Linked DNA regions of Homo sapiens: region 1 is linked to region 2. Evidence: promoter capture Hi-C in human tissues and cell types (Jung and others, 2019). All regions are on one chromosome and are shown on one strand. Each heading gives the region's core, a stretch centred on a gene start or on the middle of the fragment in contact. The rest is flanking DNA. Distances are from core to core; before and after follow the strand shown. Region 1 overlaps PSMD13 (proteasome 26S subunit, non-ATPase 13). Region 2 holds the start of IRF7 (interferon regulatory factor 7).

Region 1 (3,901 bases), core at 953-3,452, 360 kb before region 2:
ATTTTTCTGTCTTTCTATACTTTACAGCCTGATTTAGCAGCTAATGAAGCCCAGCTTCTGAGGAAAATTCAGTTGTTGTGCCTCATGGAGGTAAGCGAACACCCAGGAGCCACTTTGTCTGTGGTTTCAGATTTTGGTCAGGTGGGGGCGCTGCACTCTCCAAGCCTGTGCTGAGCAGTGTGAGCTTTCAGTGGTGCTGCTTCTGCTGTGCGCCGCTCTCTTCACCACCTTCCTTTTCCTTTGCTACCACTTGCTCTTCTAAGTTTATATTTGGCTCTTAGCTCAGACGACACCCTCCCACCCCACTGCCACCACCCTGAGGCCTTCCCTGACCATCTGAACTGAGATGAAGTAGCTGCCCCTCTCCCCGTGATGCAGTTGTTGCCTCATTGCATGTCGCTTCTTGTGTACACGCACATCTGTCTTTCCCCACTAGAACTTAAGCTTCGTCAGGAAGTGGCCCTTAGATTTCTGGTTTGCCGTGGTCACCCCTGGTCAACCCTGGCAAATTGTGGCCTCAAGTACTTGTTCGGGGATTGAACAATGGCTACTGTCAGAAACTCCTGTAAGGCATTTTGCTGTTATCCTTCTTATCTAAGCATTAAAAGCTTGTTCTTAACAAGATATATGTCTAATATTAGGAAACTTTTTAGTATGTGGGGTACTAATAAGATCTCTATTTTCAGAGCCAATATTGACAAAACATCCTTATCAGTTCTCTATTTTTATTTGGAAAAATAGTTTAAAATAGTTAATAAAATTTTTTCCAGATGACTTTCACACGACCTGCCAATCACAGACAACTCACTTTTGAAGAAATTGCCAAAAGTGCTAAAATCACAGTGAATGAGGTACGGTCCCTAGGCTCAGGGTGTTAGAGCAGCAAAGCTGCCACATGGAGGAGTCAAGGCTCTTGTGTGAGCGCTGTGCTCCCTAGACAGTAAAAAATGACGGGAGGAGCGGCATCTGCTTCTCACAAGCCATCTGGGTCCATGGGGGTGTGTCAGGCTATCTTGTCTTACACACGCCTCCCTCTCTGCACAGGTGGAGCTTCTGGTGATGAAGGCCCTTTCGGTGGGGCTGGTGAAAGGCAGTATAGACGAGGTGGACAAACGAGTCCACATGACCTGGGTGCAGCCCCGAGTGTTGGATTTGCAACAGGTGATGTGTTTGAAACCCATTATTCACCTCTGTGGATTTTGAGGGGTTGTGTCTATACCGTCTTAGTTTCATTTGGATGGAAGCCATTTGGGAAGACAGCATTATTAGACAAGAGGTTTTGGAGAAGGAAATACTGCTGTTGGGTTTTTCTAAGAGCCTAATTTAATGCAAGCCTAGGGTTTGAACCCTGCATTTAAAAGCTTATGATGACAATGGCACTGGTTGTGCTGACGGTGCCTTTTAATCTTAAGATAGGAGCTCTGATCAGATACGTTCCTGGTTCTGTGATTTGAGCTCACGTCGCTCTTACATTTGCTGGAAATGCGATCCTGTGGATTTCCTCTGTCCTTGTCTGCTTTCTTTCATGCAAGTTTTTTCTAACGTTCCTGTGAAAAGAATTAACCCGGCAAGTCCCGTCCCACTCCCCCAGCTCAGAGGTCCTTTTTACTAGAGCTGCCCTAGAGAGTTAGCTGGAGATGTAGAGTCACCCCATCAGGTGCTGTGCCGGCCGCTCGGCCTGTGTCTCCTGCGTGTCTTAACGTCCCTTGTGTCCGGATTTCCATTTCAGATCAAGGGAATGAAGGACCGCCTGGAGTTCTGGTGCACGGATGTGAAGAGCATGGAGATGCTGGTGGAGCACCAGGCCCATGACATCCTCACCTAGGGCCCCCTGGTTCCCCGTCGTGTCTCCTTTGACTCACCTGAGAGAGGCGTTTGCAGCCAATGAAGCTGGCTGCTCAGACGGTCGACATTGAATTTGGGTGGGGGTTGGGATCCTGTCTGAAGTACAGACTGTTCTTGCTCTAAAAACAGGACTGTCCCTGATGGGAGCCAGGCCACAGGGAGGAGGCTTCTTTGTGGGTCTCTCCTGCAGAGGGTGGGGGTCTCAGGGTCTTAGGTGATACGGGAGAGAAAGAACGTGCCAGGCAGGAGGCCCCCTGAAGTCTGTGTACTCCGAGGTGGATCTCCATCCCCATCCACCTGTACGGACATCTTTTCCGTTGCGGTTTGAGAATGTTCCTATAATAAACCCCTCTGCTTTGTTCTTCTTGTGGCTCTGTTTTCTTGGGCTTAGCTTCCAGGCCAAGCCTGTGCCTGGAGGTTAAAAAGCATGAGTTGGAACCTTGGGAAGACACGGTGGGGGTAGCCTTGGCCCTTCTCCTCCCTGCACATACAGTAGACGGGCAGAATCCAGCACCAAGGACTAACGAAGACGCTGGTCCTATCTTTATTGTTAGTCAAGAGAGACCTAGGGGTATCCACTCCCTTCTCCAGCCCTCTCAGGTACCTGCCCCGACACAGGCATCCATCCACATCCTTGTCACCACTCATCATTCAAATAGCCACCAGCATCTGTGACCTGGTGTGCCCCAGTGCGGACATGAGCCATCCCTGGGACTGGGCATGTAAAGGAAACCACCTTGAGGTTCCCCGTCTGGGAGTGGAGGTGCACGTACACAAAGAATCACAGAGTGAACATTAGGTGGAAGGACAGTTTAATGTGATCTTTCAGTCCTGGGCCTGCAGTGACAGCATGGAGCTCTTGCAGCTCTCCAGGTCGGGTGAGACCCAGCCTCCAGGAACCAGGAAGCTGATGAATGTGAGAGCCCCACGGCCTGCTCCTGTTGGAGGAAAGCACCCACAAGTCTGCTAGGCTGGCAAAGAACAGTTGTCCGGCATCTTCTCCAGCCTTTTCCTCTTTGGTTGCTGGTGTCTGAGCTCCTGGTTTTTTCCACCTCGTCCAGGCCTCGCCTGACCTCATGGCCCCAGACCCCTCTCGGTCTTTCCACCCACCCTCTCCAGACCTCGTTTGGCCCTGGTCCAGATGGCCTGACACCCCAGCTGTTCCTCGTCAGTCACAATTGCTGGGATCTATTGACCACTAGCCTTTATACCCACCTCACTGTCAAGTTCCCAAGGCCCTGTGGTGCACCCTTCAACCTTCCGCAGCCCCTCTCAGCTGCTCAGGCCAAATGTCTTAGTGTGAGCCTCCATTTCCCTCAGACACTCATGTGTACATCGAGCCCGCTGACTCCCCACCCTCCCTAAGTCCAGCCTCAAACCTGTCCTCCATAACCGCTCCTCCACACAGCAGCCCAGACAGTCTTCCAGAACAATCAGGTCTTGTTGCTGCCGCTGCTCAGCATCCTCCAACAGGCTTCACTCACCCCCAAGGCCTGAGTGCTCTGACCACTGCCTGCCTTGCTGGTCCTGCTCCTACCCTCATCTGCTCTCCCTGCACCCCACCAAGGCTCCTGCCTCATCCCAGACATGAGCTGATCACAGCCCAGAGAGACACAATTCTGCATGCTGAAATCCCGAAAAATCAAAATTCTGAAAATATATTTCTGGAAAAAATAATTTTAAAATTATTTAAAAGATATTTATTTACTTTTTTTTCATTTTTTTATTTTTGAGACGGAGTTTCACTCTTGTTGCCCAGGCTGGAGTGCAATGGCACCATCTCCGCTCACTGCAACCTCTACCTCCTGGGTTCAAACAATTCTGCCTCAGCCCTCTGAGTAGCTGGGATTACAGGCGCCTGCCACCACACCTGGCTAATTTTGTATTTTTAGTAGAGATGGGGTTTCTCCATGTTGGTCAGGCTGGTCTCAAACTCCTGACCTCAGGTGATCCGCCCGCCTCAGCCTCCCAAAGTGCTGGGGTTACAGGCATGAGCCACCACGCCTGGCCATCTATTTACATTTTTAAAGGGGATTTATTTGAGAAACATAAAAAC
Region 2 (2,526 bases), core at 27-2,526:
GTCCTGGGCCTGCTGGCAGCCTCTCCCAGAACAGCTTCTAAAACCACAAATCTGACCCAGAGAATGTTCCCCTTTGCCCAAGCAGGACGAATGCCAACGCCCTTGGCAGCCGGCGTCGCTCACCTCGCCAGCACAGCTCCCGGCTGAGCGCGTACACCTTGTGCGGGTCGGCCGGGTCCCCCGAGTTATCCCGCAGCATCACGAAGCGACGCGTGCTGCGCAGTGCGCAGCGGAAGTTGGTTTTCCAGCCGGCGCGCTCCGCAGTCTCAGCCTCGGGGGGCGGGCCACCTCCCCTGCTGCTAGGCGGCCACCTGCCGCGGGCCACAGCCCAGGCCTGAAGAGGGGGACAGAACACGTGTGCCGGGCCCGCGGGGTCCTAGGCGGGCTCTCCCACCCGGGGCGGGGCGGGGCTGGGGTCCCCACCTTGAAGATGCGCGCGTCGGCCTCGCTCAGGTCCTTGCGCGCGAAGTGCTTCCAGGGCACGCGGAAACAGGTGCGGGCCTCGTCCAGCCACTGCAGCCCCTCATAGCAGCCGCTGCTGATCTCTCCAAGGAGCCACTCTCCGAACAGCACGCGTGGGGCTGCCCTGCGGGTGCCCGGCCGCGGAGAGTCAGGGCCGGCTGCAGGGCGCTCGGGGACTGGCATCTGGAGAGGGTGGGCCGGGCTCTTACCTCTCAGGAGCCAAGGCCATTGCTCCTTCTGCAGGGGCAGTTAGGTGGCGGTCAGGTGTTATAACAGGGGAGGTAAGGGCTCCTGTCGCAGCAGACGCCAGGCCGCGGCCACAGGTCGTGTGGCCAGGTGTCACAGGTGTCCACAGGTGTGGACTGAGGGCTTGTAGCCACCGACGCTGCCTCGGTATGGATCTCTTGGCAGAGGGGGCTACAGGTGTGACTGCAGGTGTGGCCGGCGCGCACACATGAAGTCACAGGTGTTGAACCAGTGTCCAGGCCTGGCGGGAAGGCGCAGGCCGGACCCTGCGGAGACGGGAAAGGCGACGTCAGGGGCGGGTCAGGCTCCCGGGAAAGCGAAACCTAAACAGTGGCGCTTCGCACCCTCCTCGATCCCACCCCGTCCGGTTCTCAGCTCCGCGGAACCCCGCCTCCGCCTCCGCCTCCCTCCCCGCCCGACCCTCATCTCTCAGGCTCCCCCAGCTCTTGGCTCTACCCCTCCGGGGTCACGGAGCCCCCACGGAGGCTCTCGCTCCCGGCCTGCACCGCGTGGGTCTGGGGTCCCCAGTACCTGGGTGCCAGAGCCGCCGGGACGGGAAGTTTCGTCTCGCGGGGAAGCGGAGGGCCGGCGCTTTTATGGTGGCCAGGCGGGAGTTTCCGGGAAGGGCGCGCGCCGCCTGTTCTTATTATTGGATGCGACCAGCGGAACCCCGCCCCGGCCAGCGCGGAGTAGGGAGGAGTGGAGGGCGTTGGGAGTGGCTGCAGTGAGCCGAGATGGAGCCACTCCACTACAGCCCAGGGGACAGAGCAAGACTCAGTCTCAAAAAAAAAAGGAAGTGGGTAATGGGAGGTGGACGTGCCTCGAAAAAGGGGCAGCTGCACCGTTTGCGTTTCTTTTTTTGAGATGGAGTTTCGCTTTTGTTACCCAGGCTGGAGTGCGGTGGCACAATCTTGGCCCACCACAACCTCCGCCTCCCGGGTTCAAGTGATTCTCCTACCTAAGCCTCCCGAGTAGCTGGGATTACAGGCATGAACCACCACGCCCGGCTAATTTTGTATTTTTAGTAGAGACGGGGTTTCTCTATGTTGGTCAGGCTGGTGTCGAACTCCCGACCTCAGGTGATCTGCCCACCTCGGCCTCCCAAAGTGCTGGGATTTAGGCGAGAGCCGCCGTGCGCAGCCCCCTTTGGGTTTTTTACATTGTTCAGTCAAGAATATCAGATACTCTCACAATTAAAACATTTGGAAAGGAATTAATGGTGTATTTCCATTAGGGAAAGTGCTGACAAGCCGCAAGGGATCCCTTGATGGTTCTGGGCATGGGCGCCCAGCCTGGGCTCTGGCTTTGGGAGCAGCGAGGGGAATGTGTCTCTCACCCCTAGGCCTCCTGGTCTGGCTCCTGCTCAGGCCACACGGCGCACCCACCCCCAGCGCGCCTCAGTCCAGGTCACTGGGCAGGGTGTTTACTGCTGCGCTCCAACCCAAGCATGTAGATTTCAGAAGGGGACTAGGACCCCCGGCAGGTGTTTGAGACCACCGGCTCCCAAGTGCGTCGCCTTGGGGGTTTGCATCGGCTCCTCAGCCTCCCCAGGCAATCTCTGTGTAGGGTCGGGAGCGGGAGGTCTGAGATGAGCCGGGTGCCTGAGATCTCCGGTGCAGGTCGGGGGAGGGGAGCCCCCCTCGGGCTGTGGTTAGAGCGGGAGAGGAACTTCCCAGACTAGCTGGCACAGAGCCTCGGGAAGGCGGCGGGCACTGCAGGTGGTTTACGGGAAGTGCTGCAGCCTTGGGGTGGGGACAGCGTGGCCAGACCCACCGCCTCATCTGCACACCTGGGCTCAAGCGCTAATGACGACAGGGG

Evidence for each region. The method cuts DNA at HindIII sites, captures the fragments that hold promoters and counts their contacts. A contact is called where the count stands out against the background at its distance.
Region 1: a fragment that was not itself captured here is called in contact with the fragment with the promoter of IRF7 in region 2 in 1 of the 25 tissues and cell types used here (lymphoblastoid cells).

Annotation. Positions count from the first base shown.
Region 1 is chr11:250,776-254,676 of GRCh38, forward strand. It overlaps PSMD13 (proteasome 26S subunit, non-ATPase 13), which reads left to right. Exons shown (of 13, transcript NM_002817.4): 10 at 28-90; 11 at 771-851; 12 at 1,045-1,161; 13 at 1,730-2,209. The coding sequence ends at 1,825. It also overlaps the pseudogene COX8BP. Among named protein-coding and RNA genes, the nearest start is that of PSMD13, 16 kb to the left of the region's middle. The HindIII fragment of the contact is 4,358 bases long and covers 24-3,901 here.
Region 2 is chr11:614,674-617,199 of GRCh38, forward strand. IRF7 (interferon regulatory factor 7) reads right to left here and starts at 1,277. Exons shown (of 11, transcript NM_001572.5): 1 at 1,240-1,277; 2 at 672-974; 3 at 424-586; 4 at 124-334. The coding sequence starts at 691. CDHR5 (cadherin related family member 5) reads right to left here. Exons shown (of 15, transcript NM_021924.5): 15 at 1,910-2,526. RefSeq lists an enhancer at 139-733. The HindIII fragment of the contact is 18,510 bases long and covers 1-2,526 here.